Regions from separate parts of the Homo sapiens genome. Here regions 2, 3 and 4 are each linked to region 1. The links are contacts of gene promoters, found by promoter capture Hi-C in blood cells and fetal thymus (Javierre and others, 2016). All regions are on one chromosome and are shown on one strand. Each heading gives the region's core, a stretch centred on a gene start or on the middle of the fragment in contact. The rest is flanking DNA. Distances are from core to core; before and after follow the strand shown. Region 1 holds the start of LGR6 (leucine rich repeat containing G protein-coupled receptor 6). Region 2 overlaps KDM5B (lysine demethylase 5B). Region 3 overlaps KDM5B (lysine demethylase 5B). Region 4 holds the start of SYT2 (synaptotagmin 2).

The links. Contacts are between HindIII fragments. The CHiCAGO score rates a contact against its expected background, and 5 or more counts as called.
Region 2: a fragment that was not itself captured here is called in contact with the fragment with the promoter of LGR6 in region 1 in 1 of 17 cell types (neutrophils); the score reaches 5.0 in neutrophils.
Region 3: a fragment that was not itself captured here is called in contact with the fragment with the promoter of LGR6 in region 1 in 1 of 17 cell types (monocytes); the score reaches 6.1 in monocytes.
Region 4: a contact is called between a fragment that was not itself captured here and the fragment with the promoter of LGR6 in region 1, in 8 of 17 cell types (M1 macrophages, M0 macrophages, neutrophils and 5 more). The highest score is 14.5, in M1 macrophages.

The regions. Positions count from the first base shown.
Region 1 is chr1:202,191,747-202,196,399 of GRCh38, reverse strand. It overlaps LGR6 (leucine rich repeat containing G protein-coupled receptor 6), which reads right to left and starts at 2,601. Exons shown (of 18, transcript NM_001017403.2): 1 at 2,199-2,601. The coding sequence starts at 2,410. RefSeq lists enhancers at 3,468-3,517, 3,212-4,015. The HindIII fragment of the contact is 23,199 bases long and covers 1-4,653 here.
Region 2 is chr1:202,765,740-202,770,392 of GRCh38, reverse strand. It overlaps KDM5B (lysine demethylase 5B), which reads left to right. Exons shown (of 27, transcript NM_006618.5): 5 at 3,333-3,467. It also overlaps the pseudogene COX7CP2. Among named protein-coding and RNA genes, the nearest start is that of KDM5B, 40 kb to the left of the region's middle. The HindIII fragment of the contact is 4,397 bases long and covers 27-4,423 here.
Region 3 is chr1:202,743,576-202,748,228 of GRCh38, reverse strand. KDM5B (lysine demethylase 5B) reads left to right here. Exons shown (of 27, transcript NM_006618.5): 15 at 1,906-2,087; 16 at 2,247-2,371. Among named protein-coding and RNA genes, the nearest start is that of SYT2, 35 kb to the right of the region's middle. The HindIII fragment of the contact is 588 bases long and covers 2,344-2,931 here.
Region 4 is chr1:202,707,062-202,711,714 of GRCh38, reverse strand. It overlaps SYT2 (synaptotagmin 2), which reads left to right and starts at 1,261. Exons shown (of 9, transcript NM_177402.5): 1 at 1,261-1,457. The HindIII fragment of the contact is 1,708 bases long and covers 1,895-3,602 here.

The sequences.
Region 1 (4,653 bases), core at 1,352-3,851:
AAGGAGCCCCAAGACTTCCCCACCCTGGCTCTTCTGCATGCCAGCTCTCAACCCCACCTTCAGGTGCCTTTCTGGTAGAGCTGTTCTCCAGAGAGGGCAAAGAAAGAAAATTCCTCCTCTGAGACACCCTCAGGACAACTGTAGGAATCCTTCATGCACCATCCAGATGGGACCCCTCCCCAGCCCAGGGCAGGGGACACGGTCCTCTGCCACCTCCTTCCAATATTCCAGACCCCACTGCTAAATTCCCCATATTGCCTCAGGACCCATCATACTCTTTATAGCTCCCACTCCCTCTCTTCTCTCCACAACTCTCAGAAGCATCCCCTGAGTCTTGAGAGAGAGGGGCTTTCTCAATCCCCAGGAAGACACAGACCAGCTCAGAAAACCCCACCTCCACTGAACCCAAATGCAGACTTCACAGCTCCGAGGGAATTGTGGCAAGCTAGTGGGAAAAACTTCTGCCAGCATGGATGGTAGGATGCTTGAATTCCAAAGGTGACAGTGTACCTCCTTCCCCAAGTCCTTCTAGAAAAAGGGTCATTAACCAGTCTAGGAAGACTTAATGCTGGGAAAGGAAGCTCTGGAAGGCCTTATCTCCCCTGCCCCTTCAACCCAGGCAAGGGACCTTCCTTCAGCTCACCCAGAGAAAGGCTCCACAGAAGTCACATCTAAACTCTTTAGCCACAGGACCCTGTCTTCAAATGAACCAATGTCACATACTCCCAGGATAGAAAACTGCTGAAAGAGGGGCTGGCCTGTGTGTAGGGTGGGGCCGGAGCCTGCCCTGCTTTGCCAGATGCTGAGCGCCCAGGCTCTGTGCAGTTGGTACCTTTATTCCCATGATTGCCTCTGCCGTCACCTACTGCACTGTGAAGGATTCCATTTGTCCTTCTAGATGGACATTATTTTTCTCTTCCCACTCCCTTACCTGGCCCACAGCCTGTGCCTTTTGGAGTGGAGGGGGACATCCCAACCTGGGGACAGGGACATTTGGAGAGGAGCCCCATGAAGAGTTGCCCTCTGGGACCCTCTACCTCCCACCAGGACACTCCCAACACTGAGCATCTTTAGTTCCACAAATTCTTGCTAGGCCCCTATAAAGATTCACCCAGCCTCCTCTTCCTCTAAGCTCCCATGTGCTGGAACCCCAAAGCCATAAGGAGCCTCTCTCAGGCCAGAAGGAACTCTGGGATCCTAGCCCTCAGCAGAAGGCCCCACCAGGCTTTCCCACCTGCTCCCAGCTCCTCTGAGGAAGTTGATAGAGCCTGCAGAGCTGGGCTGGAGGAGGTTTCCTTGCCCCAGAGCGGGGCTGGGGGTGCAGGTGGGTGGCCTGGAATGTGCTCTCTCACCCTCCTCCTGCCCAGGTGGTGAGCAGCCAGAGCCCCCAGCCCTCCAGCTCTGAGGGGAAGCTCCCATGAGCCAGACAGACAGGACAGCTGCCCCCAGTAGGGTCCCCTTCACGCGCCATCTCACCCCAACTCAGACGCTAAAAATGGTTCTCTGGTTTTCAGCCTCGGCGCCTGCCCACAAATTAGTGTCTCCAACACAGCCTCTTGGGACATGACTTTAGGGAGGCCCCTGGGGGAGCCAGGAGGCCCCAGTGAAGGGAGATGGTGCTGGCAGAGTCCCTTTCTGAGGAGACAAGAGTGGATAAGGCCCCCCTCCCAGCTTCTAGGAAACCCGCCCCCCCCGCCCCCACGAAGGCCACCCAGCCTCAGTGTGACAGCCCTGTTGTCCTCACCATGGCAGAAGAACAGACATTATTTCCACCCTACTGGGGCACGCTCCCCTCACCTCCACCTCCAGTTCTGTCAGCTTTACCCTCAGCCACCATCCCGGGCACTGCTCTGCTAGAAGAGAATGCAGCAACAGGAGATGGAGCAGCCAGCCCCGCGCCCTCCCGCTCAGGGTCCAGAACCCACCTCGCCAAGCCTGGGCTCCCATAGTCAGCCCACAAGCACGGAGGCCAATGGGGAAGCCAAGTCAGGGAAGCCCGGTCTCCCTGCTCGCCTGGTATTTAGTCTCAGACTCTTCTCCCCTCCCCAGTCCCGCAACGGTCAACTTGGAAGGGGGCAAACCCTCTCCGGGATGCCCATGCCCCAGGGCACCAAGCAAGCAGGTGCCCTGCTGAGGCCGGGACTGGGCGCTAGCCAGCAGCCCGCAGGACCAGGCGGGGACAGGCGGGCAGTACTCACAGGTAAGCCGTCAGGGGGTCCAGGTCCCCCGGAACGGCGGACAGCCCGAGCTCAGAGCAGTCGGCAGACAGCATGATGCCGTCCTCCTGGCAGTGGCAGGGGGCCGGGCAGGCGGTGGGCCCCGGGCCGGGCTGGGGGGCGCCGCCGGCCCTCCGGGAAGCGCACAGCGCGGCGCAAAGCCATAGCGCCCGGAGCCCCGGCGGGCTGGGCATCTCGGCGGTCGGGCTACTGGGGCACCTGGCGGCCGGGCGCGGACGCACGGCGCGATGGCCGCAGCTGCTTCCTCCCGGTCCCGGCGGGCTGCACCGTCGGTGGGGACCGCCCCAGGGGCTCTATTGGGCGGCGGCGGCGGCGGTGGGAGCGCCGGGACGGTGCAGTCAGAGAGGGGCAGGCATTGTTGAGTGATCTTCGTTATTCAGTTTCACAGGCTGGGCTTGGCAAGGGAGGGAGACCCAGCCGGAGGAGGAGTCAAGGAAACTTTCTACACTGCGGCTCGCTCCTCTTCCCTCCTTCCTTCGGAGCTGGCAGGAATTTCATCCAGGAAAGAAAAAAAAAAAAGGAAGAAAGCAAAGAAACCCAAGCGAGCAAAGCTCAGCCCGTCAGAGACCTGCATTTGTTTGGATAGGGTGTCCCAGGGCCTTGGCCGCAGGGCTGGGGACCCTCTTGCCTTTGGGGACAGCCACGAGGTCACATGGGACCCAGAGGAGGTCTCTGAAAGAGGCCTTGGGGCTCCCATTGCCCCTCATGCCTCCACCACGTTTCACACTGCAGGAAACTGAGACCCAAGAGGCAAAATGATTTGTTCAAGGTGACACAGCTGATGGGACATCCCCAGAGCTGGAACTCGTCCACCCTCCCTGGCCTGTCTGCTAGGACAGGAGAGAGGGGAGTGAGGGGCTACCCTGGAAGAGGCCAGGCTGCGGAGGGTTCCACTGCAGGCTGGGATGACCCGACGGTGGGCAACCAGGAGCAGTCTCCTCACTGAGAGGCCGGGCCTTGACTCCAAAGAAACGGGTGTGGAGTTACACCCGCTGAGTGCACCCTGGGTGGAAATGCACTCCTGCAGCCTCTGTCAGGTTTACGGCCTGGGGACCACCTTGATCCCTGCTCCCAGGACCTCGGGAGTCTGAGGGACTGTGGGCAGCTCAGCTGGTTGTCAGAGCCCACCTCAAAGTAAGCGGATTGGTGCCACCTGGAGGCCGGGTGCTGCACCTGCAGCTCAGCCACCCTGAGGCTGGAATCCCACCAAGTGGCTGACCTGGGCCGGCCCCAGAGCCCTGGAGAGCAAAGGGCATGGTGGTTAAAACTGAGGTCAATCCCTGTTCTCTCCTTAGACCATAGTGAGCTGGCTGTGCTTCCTTCATGCAGCCTCTTGCTCTCTCTGGTCTCTCCCATGCTGAGCCAAGCCCCCGCGCAGAGCTAGAGCAGGCTGTGGGCCCCCCTCCTTCCTTTTTTTGCCCTATCTCCCCATGGTCCAGCCAGAGGGTATACTAGAAACCTGGGACCTCAGAGGCATCCAGGATTTCTTCCACCCTGTCTTTCCACATGCCAGGATCCTCTCATCAACACCTCTCCACTCTCCCAATAACCTCCCAGGGCTAGAGGGGCTGCATAGCTGGACCAAGAAATGAGCAGACCTTGACCCTAGGCCTCCAGTTGGTGCCATGGCGCTGAAAGTAGAAGACGAGCCTCCGCTCTCGCTCTCCCTCTCCCTCTCCCCTCTTTCCACGGTCTCCCTCTGATGCCGAGCCGAAGCTGGACTGTACTGCTGCCATCTCGGCTCACTGCAACCTCCCTGCCTGATTCTCCTGCCTCAGCCTGCCGAGTGCCTGCAATTGCAGGCGCATGCCGCCACGCCTGACTGGTTTTCGTATTTTTTGGGTGGAGACGGGGTTTCGCTGTGTTGGCCAGGCTGGTCTCCAGCTCCTAACTGCGAGTGATCCGCCAGCCTCGGCCTCCCGAGGTGCCGGGATTGCAGACGGAGTCTCCTTCACTCAGTGCTCAATGGTGCCCAGGCTGGAGTGCAGTGGCGTGATCTCGGCTCGCTACAACATCCACCTCCCAGCAGCCTGCCTTGGCCTCCCAAAGTGCCGAGATTGCAGCCTCTGCCCGGCCGCCACCCCGTCTGGGAAGTGAGGAGCGTCTCTGCCTGGCCGCCCATCGTCTGGGATGTGAGGAGCCCCTCTGCCTGGCTGCCCAGTCTGGAAAGTGAGGAGCGTCTCTGCCCAGCCGCCATCCCATCTAGGAAGTGAGGAGCACCTCTTCCCGGCCGCCATCCCATCTAGGAAGTGAGGAGCGTCTCTGCCCGGCTGCCCATCGTCTGAGATGTGGGGAGCGCCTCTGCCCTGTCGCCCCGTCCGGGATGTGAAGAGCGTCTCTCCCCGGCCGCCCCGTCTGAGAAGTGAGGAGACCCTCTGCCTGGCAACCGCCCTGTCTGAGAAGTGAGGAGCCCCTC
Region 2 (4,653 bases), core at 976-3,475, 570 kb before region 1:
GGGTGTAAGTTAAATTTCAGGAAGCTTGAGAAAAGTTGATGCACTGTTCCAGTGGAACAGAGGCCTCAATCTTGCATCATCATGTTTTCTAAATGTTTTAAGGGATTGCTCTGTCTTTGGGATGATGTGATTATGGCATGATGATGATATTAATCACCTGTAAGTCCTGGTTTCTCAAGTAAAGGTTAAAATTAGCGTCTGTATGTTAATAACATTAGATATAAAACCATATCGTGTGTATTTTTAATTGTGGTTTGGAACAAAATAATAAAGCTCTTCATATTTATTCTAAAAAACTACAGGGCATGATTTTCTTAGATCTGCAAAGTCCTTACAGAACCAAGCTGACCATAGATGATGGAACCATTGAGACTAACTAGTAGGAGATAGGAACCACGTATATAGCATCTGAATTTGTGATCATCCACTTAATACAATTTATGTCATTCAGCTCAATTAGTATTTTCCTAATCACTCATACTTTTGTGTGTCAAATAGAAAGTACATTGGATACATAAAGGGGATTAATTTAGATGATGAACAGGTTTTATTCCCCTCTGCATGCTTTCATTAAACATACTCTAAATGCTCAACTGAGGACTTGTTATAGAATAGAAGGCAATGTTCTATACAAATTTTTTCAAAAAACAGAATATTTTTTTCTCTCAATTGTTGGGTGTTTAATTTGTCTCATAATTTTTTTTTTTTTTTTTTTTTTTTTTTTGAGACAGAGTCTTGCTGTGTCACCCAGGCTGGAGTGCAGTGGCATGATCTCGGCTCATTGCAACATCCGCCACCCTGGTTCAAGCGATTCTCCTGCCTCAGTGTCCCGAGTAGGTGGGATTACAGGCATGCATCACCACATTGGCTAATTTTTGTACTTTTAGTAAGGACGGGGTTTCAGTATGTTGGCCAAGCTGGTTTCGAACTCCTGACCTCAAGTGATCTACCTGCCTTGGCCTCCCAAAGTGCTGGGATTACAGGCTTGAGCCACTGCACCTGACCAACTTTTTTCAGAATGTAAGTGCTTAACTATTAAGAATATAATAGGCCAGGCGGCCGGGCGCAGTGGCTCACGCCTGTAATCCCAGCACTTTGGGAGGCTGAGGCAGGTGGATCACGAGGTCAGGAGATTGAGACCATCCTGGATAACACGGTGAAACCCTGTCTCTACTAAAAATACAAAAAAATAGCTGGGTGTGGTGGCAGGTGCCTGTAGTCCCAGCTACTTGGGAGGCTGAGGTAGGAGAATGGCGTGAACCCAGGAGGTGGAGCTTGCAGTGAGCCAAGATGGCGCCACTGCACTGCAGCCTGGGCGACAAAGCGAGACTCTGTCTCAAAAAAAAAAAAAAGAAAAAAAAAGAATATAATAGGCCGTAGGCCGGGTGCAGTGGCTCACACCTGTAATCCCAGCACTTTGGGAGGCTGAGGCGGGCTGATCACCTGAGGTCAGGAGTTTGAGACCAGCCTCAACATGGAGAAACCCCGTCTCTACTAAAAATACAAAATCAGCCGGGCGTGGTGGTGCATGCCTGTAATCCCAGCTACTTGGGAGGCTGAGGCAGGAGAATTGCTTGAACCTGGGAGGTGGAGGTTGCAGTGAGCCGAGATTGCACCTTTGCACTCCAGCCTGGGCAACAAGAGCGAAACTCCATCTCAAAAAAAAAAAAAAAAAGAATAGTTAACTTTTCTGGATCAAATCAATATGTAGGTTTAAGTAGAATGAGCAGAATGTTTAATATTTATAGAGCGCTATTACCAGTGGTAGATTTATTACTTGTTAACAAGTAATGAGTCAGTTTTTAATAGTATATCATATTTCTTAACTATTAGAAATAAATTTTATCATTGTGTTGCTTTGTACTTTATTTTGTTCTTCGCCCAGTCTCTGTATTTCTGCAAATGTGAGGGGGAAAGGGGCGAATCTCATTAGTGAGATTCTATGGTAGTAACTATGCTCATAGTGTTAGTGCTTCAGGAAGGTTGTTATTTCCACGTATCTCATTCCAGATATAGCTGCTATAACACACCCTAGAGGGTTACTTTTGGAACTTACTTTTACAAAGGTTTTTCGTGATGTTCCTGGGTCCTGTTATGAAAAAGTAGTGCTTACCTGAAATTCATATTAGCTTCGGTGGCAATATTTTGTCGTGTTAATGTTATATTGGCATTAAATACCCTCCTTTAGCCAGCTTAGAATAAAACTAAAAAGAAAAACCAAAGAAGAGATGCATTTCTGATCAGAACCAAAGTTATTGCTGTGGGCTACCCGTTGATCTTTGCCTTGCGAGTTAGACTTTGTAGGGATATACTGTGGTAAATGGAAACCCTAGTGAGGAAGACTACTTTAGTCAAATGACCTGTTTTCTCAATTCAGGTGATATCTTTGGATGATAACTTTGCTAGTTATATCTGAAACTATACAGTTGTAAAATCTAGAAAACATATTGGATTCCTTATTTTTTTTTATTCCGAACACTTGTTAAAAATGAGATTTTTAATATGGAAAATTGTTTTGGGAGCTTATAAGGGGCCTTTCTAACAATATGGACCTTCCATTAACTGACAGTCGCAAGCACAAATAACTCCAAGTGGTTCATTGGGAATGCCTTGAGACTGTTATGGCCTGTTGTAACCTGATGATGTCAGCAATGAAAAATCAAAGCAACACCACCTGTTAAAATTTTTTTTAATGTTTTAAACCTGTATAGATGTATGTATGTGGTTGGTAACTGCAGACTTGTCTTTATTTTTATTTAGATTTTTAAAAATTGTAGGCCTGTTGTCTACATAAATAGTTGTAAAATGTACCTTACAAAAATCCAGTGAAACTCTCTAAGATTAAAAAAGGAGGGAATCCTTTCAGTCCTTGCACACCGGGGAACAAGGTCGTGAAAAAAAGGTCTTGGTGAGGTGCCGCCATTTCATCCTTCCTCGGTCTCTGCACCTTTCGCAGAGCTTCCAGCAGCGCTATGTTGGGCTAGAGCATCCGGAGGTTCACAGCCTCTGTGGTCCGTAGGAGCCACTGTGAGGAGGGCCCTGGGAAGAATTTGCCATTTTCAGTGGAAAACAAGTGGTCGTTACTAGCTAAGATGTGTTTGTACTTTGGATCTGCGTTTGCTATACCCTTCCTTGTAGTAAGACACCAACTGCTTAAAACATAAGGGTGTTTCAGTTCCTCCATTTAACAGATATGAAGAGTATTTTAAGAGGTGCAGCCTCTGGAAGTAGATCAAACTCGAACTCATGTGGCATGCTAGATATGTTTGTCAATAAACTTATGATGTGAAAAAAAAAAGGAGGGAATTTATCAGTACAGTTGTTATTTCTAGTGTTTGCAGAAGCCAAACCTGACCACAGACACTAAGGACAAGGAGTACAAACCCCATGATATTCCCCAGAGGCAGTCTGTGCAGCCTTCGGAAACGTGCCCCCCAGCCCGACGAGCAAAACGCATGAGAGCAGAGGTAAGAGCCTCATGAGGTTAATTTAAAAGGAATTCTCAAGCCCTAATACCAATGGCTGTCTGGCACTGGATTTCTCTCATGTGTGTGCTCTTTGTAGTTTTGAACCTTGTTAATCTCACAAAGGGATGCTGTTTGTATTCCAGCTTTTACACTTGGGTGAATTGTACCATCAAAGGGGTAAGGAATCGAATAAGTCTTTCTAAATTTATGCTGCCTGGACAGACAGCCGCTTATTACCAGTCAAGGCCTTAGAAGAATTGGTGTTCCTGTGTTCCTACTTGGATTGCCCATTACCCTCACAAAATTGGCGTTGTTTAATGGAGATTAAGGCTAGAAAACATGAAGATTAGGAGTTTTTTTAAACAGAGTGGTTAGAAGACAGTTAAAGCCACTTTTCTCAGACTTCTTTTTTTTTTTTTAGAGACAGAGTCTCGCTGTGTTGCCCAGGCTGGAGTGCAGTGGCGCGATCTTGGCTCACTGCAACCTCCGCCTCCTAGATTCCAGCAATTCTTCTGCCTCAGCCTCCCAAGTAGGTGGGACTACAGGCGTGTGCCACCACGCCCGGCTAATTTGGTTTGTATTTTTAGTAGAGACCGATTTCACCGTGTTAGCCAGGATGGTCTCGATCTCCTGACCTCGTGATCCACCCATCTTGGCCTCCCAAAGTGCTGGGATTACAGGCGTGAGCCATCTCACCCAGCCTCTTCCTTTTATAGGTGGTCTCGCTCTTTCACCTAGACTGGAGTGCAGTGGCATGATCATAGCTTACTGCAACTTTGAACTCCCAGGCTCAGGTGATAGCTGCCACCTCAGCCTCCCAAGTAGCTGGAACTACAGATGCATGCCATGCATGCCTAGCTAATTAAAAAAAAATTTTTAATAAAGACAAGGTCTCACTGTGTTGTCCAGGCTAGAGAAGGATTATTTGCTTTAAGATTTTTCTGCTCTGAGAAGCTTTCCCTGGGAAAGGAAGAAGAGTATTTTTCTAGTGATCTCGTTCCCATACCAGAGGTATGAAGGTTTTGGATTCCTGCCTAGCCTGATGGATATGTGAGTTTTAGGACTCAGAGATAATATATAGGGAACTGTTTAGAGCTGGGAAGCCTCATATTGCATTAATCATACTAAATCAGTAACTGGTTTTCAATAATTATCAAAAATGAAAAAAATCAGCCATTTTGTTTTC
Region 3 (4,653 bases), core at 1,388-3,887, 550 kb before region 1:
ATGAGTCAAGGTTCATTTTTTTGCATGTGGATATCTAGTTCTTCCAGCAGCATTTCTTGAAAAGACTATCTTTTCTTCATTAAATTGCTTTGGCACCTTTGTTGAAAATCAATTCACCACATAAGTATGGGTCTATTTCTGGACTCTTGTGTTCTGGTGATCTATGCATCTATTCTATTGCTAATACTAAATGGTCTTGATTATTGTAGCTTTCTAAGAAGTCTTGAAATCAGGTAGTATGAGTCTTCTAACTTTGTTTTTTTTAAAAAATTGTTTTATCTCTTTTACTTTTTTTAATGTACATTTTAGAATCAGCTTATTGATTTCTACCAAATCAATTCCTGTTGGAATTTTGATTGAGACTGCATGAAACTATGGATAGTTTGGGGGAGAATTGATATCTTAATAATATTGAGTCTTCCAATTCATGAACATAGTATAATTTTATATTGCATGTTTTTTGGCACTATTATAAATTGTACTTTTAAAAACTGAATTTCTAATTGTTTATTGCTAGTATTTAGAGAGACAATTGACTTGTATATTGACCTTGTCTCCTGAGACCTTGCTAAAGTCACTTAATTCCCAGTAGCTTTTTCATGGATTCTTTTAGAATAATAATATCTGCAAATAGTAATACTGTTTTTTTTTTTTTTTTTAAAAATATGTGCCTTTTTGGGTAGAATCCTGGAATATTGGCTCTCTGCAGCCCATTTACATTTTAACAGCAGGTTACCTACCTTACCCTCTTATATTTTACAGTTGGGGGAAAATAGTGCCCAGAGGGTTTAAGTAACTTACCAAAGTCTTACATCAAAAATGGTAGCTCATTTTTAGAACTCTGAGACTTTTTCCATATATGGAATTTACAAATTAAAATTAGGTATGAACTACATGATTGATTCTCAATTAAAATCCATGGAGTTGGTCCTTAATCTTATTTTAAACAAAAATGTTAACTTTCTCCATCCCATGAAGTCCTTTTTAATGACCAATTCAAGAATAAAACCAAAATCTAATTAGCATTTTCCTTACCTTCCTCATCTTTGTTGGCCCATATAATTGGCAGATATGAAATAGTTAAAAGGTTAAAATACAGGATAACAGAATAAAAGAAAGAAGCCCAGTAGTTCATAAACGACTGGCATTCTCAAGGCTGGATTAGGATCCAGTTTTAGATAGGGAGAAAAGGTGATAGAAGTTTGGTCTTTAAATGACAAAAGGTGTATCCAAGAAGGGTTCTCTAGATGTTAGGTGGTACAGATTATGTTGAAATTTACTGGTTCAAGACCTTATTTTTCCTGACAGTCTTTTAGGAGGAAATGTTTAATTATGACTTTAGTCTTTGCTATTGCACAAATTTTCTAACTATTCAGTTAATGATATCCTTTCATATAACTTCCTGTAAAAGGCTGAGAGACCACTCAGCATCTTCCCAAACTCAATTTCTGCACGATAGTCTTTTCCACTCGTCCCATCTTCTTTCCTTTTATTTTTGTCCTTTTAATAGATTCTCCATATTTCCTCAGAAGTAGGAAACATATTCCTTTCTTTTAATCTTATCTATACCTCTTATCTATACCCAAAATGTGGACAAGGCTAATTTGTAGTAGAACAGATAACTAATCTCAGTAGTTTTACAGTCCTATGGTGTTCATACTCAGATCAAAATGACCAAACATAAGGACCTGCCTTGTCTGAAAAAGGAGATCTCCCTAGACAAATGAACTTGCCTGTATTTGCTAGGTCATTTGTTTCTTTGTATGCCACACATTTTTAATCATGCATCCCTATTTTGGTAAAGCTTTTTTTTTTTTTTCAGACTCAAGTACTACTGCATGTTTGTCTTGGGCTGGTGGATTATATTATCCTTTGGAGGTCTCTCTAAAGTATACTTTATTCTAGGGAGTGATTGATTCGGAAAGAATGGATTTTGAGCTGTTGCCAGATGATGAACGTCAGTGTGTAAAATGCAAAACTACATGCTTCATGTCTGCCATCTCCTGTTCTTGTAAACCTGGCCTTCTTGTTTGCCTGCATCATGTAAAAGAATTGTGTTCCTGTCCTCCTTACAAATATAAATTGCGGTAAGTAGGAAGAACGATTTTTTTTCCTATGGAAAACAGTTGATCCTTACTAAAAGCTCAATGATACCGCAGTTCTAGGGCTGAAATGTTAAGTATAAAACATCTAGTTTTCTCCAAAGCTACACGTCTCAAAGCTAAGTGTGGTGGTATTATTTCCAGGTATAGGTACACGCTGGATGATCTCTACCCTATGATGAATGCATTGAAGCTTCGAGCAGAATCTTACAACGAATGGGCCTTGAATGTGAATGAAGCTTTGGAGGCAAAGATCAACAAGAAGAAAAGTATGTGATACAGAAAGTGACTTGGTGATTGGCAAATTGGGGCTTATTGTGATGTAGCCAAATTAAAGTCAACAAAACATTTCTTGAAACAGCCTGACCTCATCCTTGGTTAGCCCCTCTACATAGCCCGGTTTACAGAGCACCGGCAGAGAAGGTTTTAAAACCAAGAGTGGATAAGGCAGTTGCCCTTACATCCCAGTGAAATTTTGTTATATGAGTTGTGCAACATCACTTACTTAACAAAAACGATATTGTTAGGAAACCTTTATTTTTGTCTCAGAAATAAAAATTTCACATTTCTTACAAAGATGTTGAAATCTTTAAAAAAACAAAAACAAAAACAAAGCATCTTGTGACAAAGGCAGCATGACACTAAATCAGGAGTCTCTGAAATGGTAGTTTATCACTTCTTAGTTCTAATTAAAGTTAAGGTCCCTGGCACTTGTCATTACCTTTGAAAGTCACTGCTACCCTTTATATCTCTCTCTCTCTTTTTTCTTATGAAAATATAGTTTGTTTTTTGCTTTTTACTTTTCACCTCAGGGGTATATGTGCAAGCTTGTTACATAGATAAACTTGTGTCATGGGCGTTTGTTGTACAGATTATTTCATCATCCAGGTATTAAGCTTAGTACCCATTAGTTATTTTTCTGGAGCCTCTCCCTCCTCCTGCCCTCCACCCTCCAATAGGCTCCATTGTGTGTTGTTCCCCTGTATGTGTTCACGTGTTACTCCCCTGTATGCATCCATGTGTTTTCATCATTTAGCTCCCACTTAATAAGTGAGAATATGCAGTATTTGCTTTCCTGTTCCTAGTGTTAGTTTGCTAACTAATTGCCTCCAGTTCCATCCATGTTCCTGCAAAGGACACGAGCTCATTCTTTTTTATGGCTGCATAGTATTCCATGGTGTATATGTACCACATTTTTCTTTATCCAGTCTATCATTGATGGGTATTTAGGTTGATTCTATGTCTTTGCTATTGTGAATAGTGTTGCAGTGAACATACACATGCATGTGTCTTTATAAATGGAATGATGTATATTCCTTTGGGTATATACCCAGTAATGGCATTGCTCGGTCAAATGGTATTTCAGTCTTTAGATCTTTGAAGAATCACCACACTGTCTTCCACAATCGTTGAACTAATTTACACTTCTACCAACAGTGTATATGCGTTCCCTTTTCTCCACAACCTTGCCAGCATGTTACTTTTTGACTTTTTAATAATAGCCATTCTGACTGGTATGAGGTGATATCTCATTGTGGTGTTTTTTTTGTTTGTTTTTGTTTTTGTTTTGAGACGGAGTCTTGCTCTGTCACCCAGACTGGAGTGCAGTGGTGCGATCTCGGCTCACTGCAACCTCCACCTCCTGGGTTCAAGCAATTCTCCTGCCTCAGCCTCCTGTGTAGCTGGGACTACAGGCACGTGCCAACATGCCCAGCTAATTTTTGTATTTTTAGTAGAGACAGGATTTCACCATGTTAGTCAGGCTGGCCTTGAACTCCTGACCTTGTGATCTGCCTGCCTCGGCCTCCCAAAGTACTGGGATTACAGGCGTGAGCCACTGCGCCCGGCCTTTCATTGTAGTTTTGATTTGCATTTCTCTAATGATCAGTGATGTTGAGCTTTTTTTCATATGATTGTTGGCCATACGTATGTCTTCTTTTGAAAAGTATCTTTTCATATCCTTTGCCTACTTTTTAATGTTTTTTTCTTGTAAATTTGTTTTAAGTTCCTTATATATGCTGGATATTAGACCTTTGTCAGATGCACAGTTTGCAAGTATTTTCTCCCATTCTGTAGGTTGTCTATTCACTCTGATGATAGTTTCTTTTGCTGTGCAGAAGCTCTTTAATTAGATCCCATTTGTCAGTTTTTGCTTTTGTTGAAGTTGCTTTTGGCATCTTCATGAAATCTTTGCCTGTGCCTATGTCCTGACAGGTATTGCCTAGGTTGTCATCCAGGGTTTTTATATTTTTGGGTTTTACATTTAAGTCTTTCATTCCTCTTGAGTTAATTTTTGTATATGGTGTAAGGAAGGGGTCCAGTTTTAATCTTCTGCATATGGCTAGCTGTTATTCCAGCACCATTTATTGAATAGGGAATCCTTTCTCCATTGCTTGTTTTTGTTAGATTAGTTGAAGATCAGATAGTTGTAGGTGTGCCTTTTTATTTCTGGGTTCTCTATTCTGTTCTGTTAGTCTGTGTGTCTGTTTTTGTACCAGTCCATTTCTCTTTCAGAGTGTTTTCACTTGCTTCCATTTCTGTAGCCCAACAC
Region 4 (4,653 bases), core at 1,499-3,998, 520 kb before region 1:
CGAGGCAGGATGCTACAGTCCTATTATAAAAGTTAACTCCAGGCCAAGCGCAGTGGCTCATGCTTGTAATCCCAGCACTTTGAGAGGCTGAAGTGGGTGGATCCCTTGAGGTCAGGAGTTCGAGACTAGCCTGGCCAACATGGCAAAACCCCATCTCTACTAAGAATACAAAAATTAGCCGGGTGTGGTGGCGCACGTCTGTAATCCCAGCTGCTCGGGAGGCTGAGGCGGGAGAATCCCTTCAACCCAGGAGGCAGAGGTGGCAGTGAGCCAAGATCGCGCCACTGCACACTGCACTGCAGGTTGGGTAACAGAGTGAGACTTGTCTAAAAAAAAAAGAAAAAAAAAAGTTAACTCCAAAAGAGTTAAAGCGGATATTCAAATTGTGCTGTAAGGAAGTTCTGGTGCTGCCCTGGCAGCTCCTGGGTAGGTTAGGAAGGGCTCTGTTTTGCCCTTGCCACCCTTCTCTTTCTCCCAGGCTCTTCCGAAATGCCACCACTTAACTGTCTGCAGCTCCTTGGTCCAACGCACCATTCAGGGACTGTTTCCCCACCTGCAAACTGCCCACGCAAAATGCCCACCTTAAAGGGATGTCTTACGTATTAAGCAAACTAACATGTGTGAACACCCTGTCTTTAATAACCAGTAGCGTCCTCCTTTTCTTTCTACCGTCTTCCAGCTCCTCTCTCCTTGTCACCCTGCAGTTCTTACTCTCCCCTCCGCTGTTCTATTTCCATAGGCCTCAGGCACCGCTGTCTTCTCTCAAGCATCCTCCTCTCTCTCACCCAACCTTTAGGCTCAGAAGCCCCCACCATCCAGGTGGCCAATATAGGTAGCGGTGACCTAAGCGGAGAGGGGAGGAGGGGAGGCTAGGGGCTCAGGGATCCCAAAATGGCCATGGGGATGGGGGCTCCTGAGCCCAATAATTTAGCCTTGAGCTGCAGTGGGTTCGGGAAGTTGGAGAGAAGGAGCTGGCTAGAAAGGAGACCAGCCTTCTGGGGTGGGGAGTATAGAGCTCCTTTCCAGTCCGCCTTCCTGCTGGGGAAGCAGCCTCCTTGACCTTGAGCAGGAGGCGGGGGCGCCGAGCGCCTGGGGGGCTGCGCAGAAAGAACCCGTCCCGGGGGGCAGGCCCGCCCTCCGCCTCCTCCGGGCCTCCTCCGCCTCGGTCCCCGCCCTCCCACGCCGCTTGGTCTCCTCCCCTCACTGCAGCGCTCGCCGCGCGCGCCCATCGATCAGGCCCCCTCCCTCTGCCGCCTCGGCGCAGACTGCTAAGCTCAGCAAGTCTTGCGGCAAAGGCACTTCGGAGCCGAGTTGGGGCAGCGGTGGAGCGGGGACTTCGCGCCCCCAGGGGAACGGGCGCCCCTGCGAAACCGTCGCCAGCCACGCGTCCTTGCCGTCCGACGCCCCCTCACATTGGAGACCCCGGATCTCTCCCGCCTCCTTCGGGTCGCTCTCCGGTAAGTCCATACCCCCGCCGGTGGGGGCACGGACCTCCCTCTCCAAAGTTTCTCCTTTCCTGCTACTGAGTCGAGGGGCCACGGGGTGGTCTGGGTCCCGAGAGGTGAGTAGGGTTGGGGAAGTTTGAGGCCAAGGGGGCCGGGAGTCTGCCCCGTCCTTTGGGGGAGTTTGGAAGCGTCCGGATGGAAGGTTCGTCTCGGGGAGTCGGACCCGAGGGGCGAGGAGCCGGCTCCTCTGAGGGACTGGGGCTGGGCTGGGGGCAGATTTCCTCCCGCGGGTTGCTGCAGAGAGGGGCGGGCCACGCGTCCCCTGCACCGGCCGGCTCTGCGCCCCCGTCCCTCTCTCCTTTCCCTGGGACGAACCCACTCGCGTCTAGCCCAGCCCCCGCCAGCCCTAGCGGTCTCCAAGGAAGGTTCTTTTGCCCCAGTCTCAAGCTTCGGGGACCCCTGGCACCGCCGTCGTGGGAAGTGGGGCGGGGGGTGGGGTCTGGGCGCTGGGAGCCGGAGACCCTGGGTCAGGGAGAGGTTGGGGAGACAGACTGCAGGGGCCATCTGGAAGCAACGGGCACGAGGAGCTGGGGCAGGGGCCCAAGAAGGGGCTGGAGGCGCCCCTCCCCTCTCTCCAAATCTCATGACTCAGCACGACCTAGGACGCCCCGTCCCTGCTTCAGCTCTGTCCCCAAGGGCTAGGCTCGCAGCCTGGCGGGTGCTGACAGCCCGACTCCCTTTTCTGGACTCTTCCATGTACCTTTCCCATTTGGGGTGCCCCCTTCCCCTGCCTATGCTCCTTCCCCCACCTCTGGGGCACAGGGCTTTTATTTTTCAACTAAAAAGTGGAGCTTTATCGTTTCACATCCCACTAAGCCAGGCCCCCTCATCCTGTCTCCTCCCTTTTCATCCCCACATTCCACAGGTGCCTCCAGGACACCCCCAGCCCATGGCTCGTGGGGTGTCTCCTGGCAGGGCAGTGTCCTCCCTTACCCCTGGCTGAGGTGGCAGAGTAGGTGCTCTCCCCGCAGCAGGAGAAGGGAGTGCAAGGACAGAAGAGGTGCTGGCCCAGGAGGGGCCACTGCAGTGGGGAGGGAAGGGCAGAGGCCCCGTGGGCAGGTAGTACAGGTTGAGTTAGCTTATAAGGAGGAGGAAGTCCTTAGGATCTGGGGGCGCCCAGGAAGCCAGAAAGGTGAACTGGGGTCTGACCTGGAAAGCAAAAGGGTGCCCTTCTCCCTCCCCTACTGCTGCCGCCCTGCGGGGCCTCTCCCAGGTGGAATAGATTGTCCTCCATCCAATCTGTCTGGATCCCCATAACCTGGCACTTCATTAGAGGGGGTGACAGAAGCAGGGAAGCCCTTAATCCTTTCAACCATCTCTCCCTACTTAAGACTAAGTCCAGCTTTGGGGCTGCTAGAAACATCTCTGTGACCAGCAGAGGTGCTGAAAAAAGCCATGCCCAGTGCCCCAAAGGCGGGCCCGAGTGGCAGGTGGAAGGGGGCAGGGTGGCTCTGATGCAGTGGGACGTGCCTGGCATCCTGGTCCTGTGGAATGAGAGTGGTGGTCTGGCAGGCACTGCAAGCTGCAGCGTGTGTCAGGGCCCTGGGGGTGAGTCAGCGTCAGGGGTCCACGCCAGGCACACTGCAGCCTAGGGAGTCCAACTCCAACCCATCTCCTCCCATGCCCCTGGAAAATGGCCAGTGCCCACTGAACCCCGACTGAACCACCTTTCCCTCAGGGTGGCTGCCTCTGCTCTGCTTGGCTGCCAGGCAGATCCCTGGCTTCACCCTCTAGGACTCCCCCCAGAGGCTTGGCTTTTTCTGGAGATCTTTTGGGCTTAATCCTTACCTTCTCCCCTCCTTGTCTTGCCAAAGGAGGAGGAGAGGGAGGCAGAGGAAAGTTTCTAGGTTATAGCCTCACATAGACCTGGCCCACCATTCCCTGGAGGAAGAGAGACCAGACCACTCTGCTGGGAGTCTGCTTTGTTCTGCAGTCCAGGAGCTTGGTCCAGGGAACTTGGGTTTTCTTTTGGGGGAAGGGGGTGATTATGCAGGAACATTTCTTTTTCAGCTTTGGGGTCTGACATCCGCAGAACAGGACCAGGGGAAGCAAAAAGTGTTGGTGTTCGTAAACATTGACTTTTCACCTAGAGAAGCTTGCAACTGGCTTCAATTTAGGACTGAAGCTGGTTTCACCTGGGCAAAGCATGTACCTTGCTGAAGACCTCGCAGGGCCGAGGAGACCCTTTCTGGAGCTGGGTCTGGGCTCACCTGCCCTCACATTGCAGCTGGAGCTCGTTTTATTCCTTCTACCCTTAGGCAGCTTCCAGGCAGGTGTGACAGGGCTGTCTATGATACTGCAGAGACCTGGGGGTGGGCTTTGGAGGTGGCTGGAGAAGCCTCTTCCTTGCCCTTCTCAAGCCCTGGGGACCAGGCTACCCCAGTGTTCCCCAGCCCCTAGGCAAGCCTGACCTCTAGTCATTCTTTCTGCCTCCATCTGAACATTATCATATCTCAATGGGGTCTCCTTTTTCTTCCCCGCCAGGCCTGTGCCGCCCTCTCAGGGGAGAGTAGATAGAGGGGCAGTGAGTGCACTGGAAGCAGGGGGACAGAAGGCAGTGAGGACAGAGTGGGAGGAGGTTGGGCTTCATTTGCCTGGAAGAATGACCATCATTCCCTTCCCTGGACAGAAGCATCCTCGTGGAGGACTTAAGGCTGCAGATGAGTAGAAACACTACTTCACTTGGCTTTGGGATTTGCTCTGTGGACTTCCCCAGTCTAGGCAGGTCCTAGCTGAAGCCAGAGTATCCCCACCACTGAAGGTCCAGGGTGGTGGGGATACTCTTTAAGAACTGGAACAGCAAGTCAGAGGGAGTAATGGGGGGGCAGGGTCACTCAGTGCAGTGGTTAAATATGAAGCACCAAAGAATGGAGGCTAGGAGATAGACAGGCCTGGGTTCAAATCCCAGGGCTGCTAAGTACAAAGTCTGACATTTGCAACAAGTATTTTATTAGTGAGTACCTACCATGTGCCACTATTGTAGTCTCTCTGGGTGGGGAGGTGAGCACAGCCGCAGGCCCTACACATGTTACTGAGCCACTCAGCATCCCTTCTGCATTCGTTCCACTATTGCATTTTGAGAATCTGTGCTAGGCAATGGAGATTCAGGTGGGAACAAAACAGACCTGTTTCCTGCCCTCGTGGCATT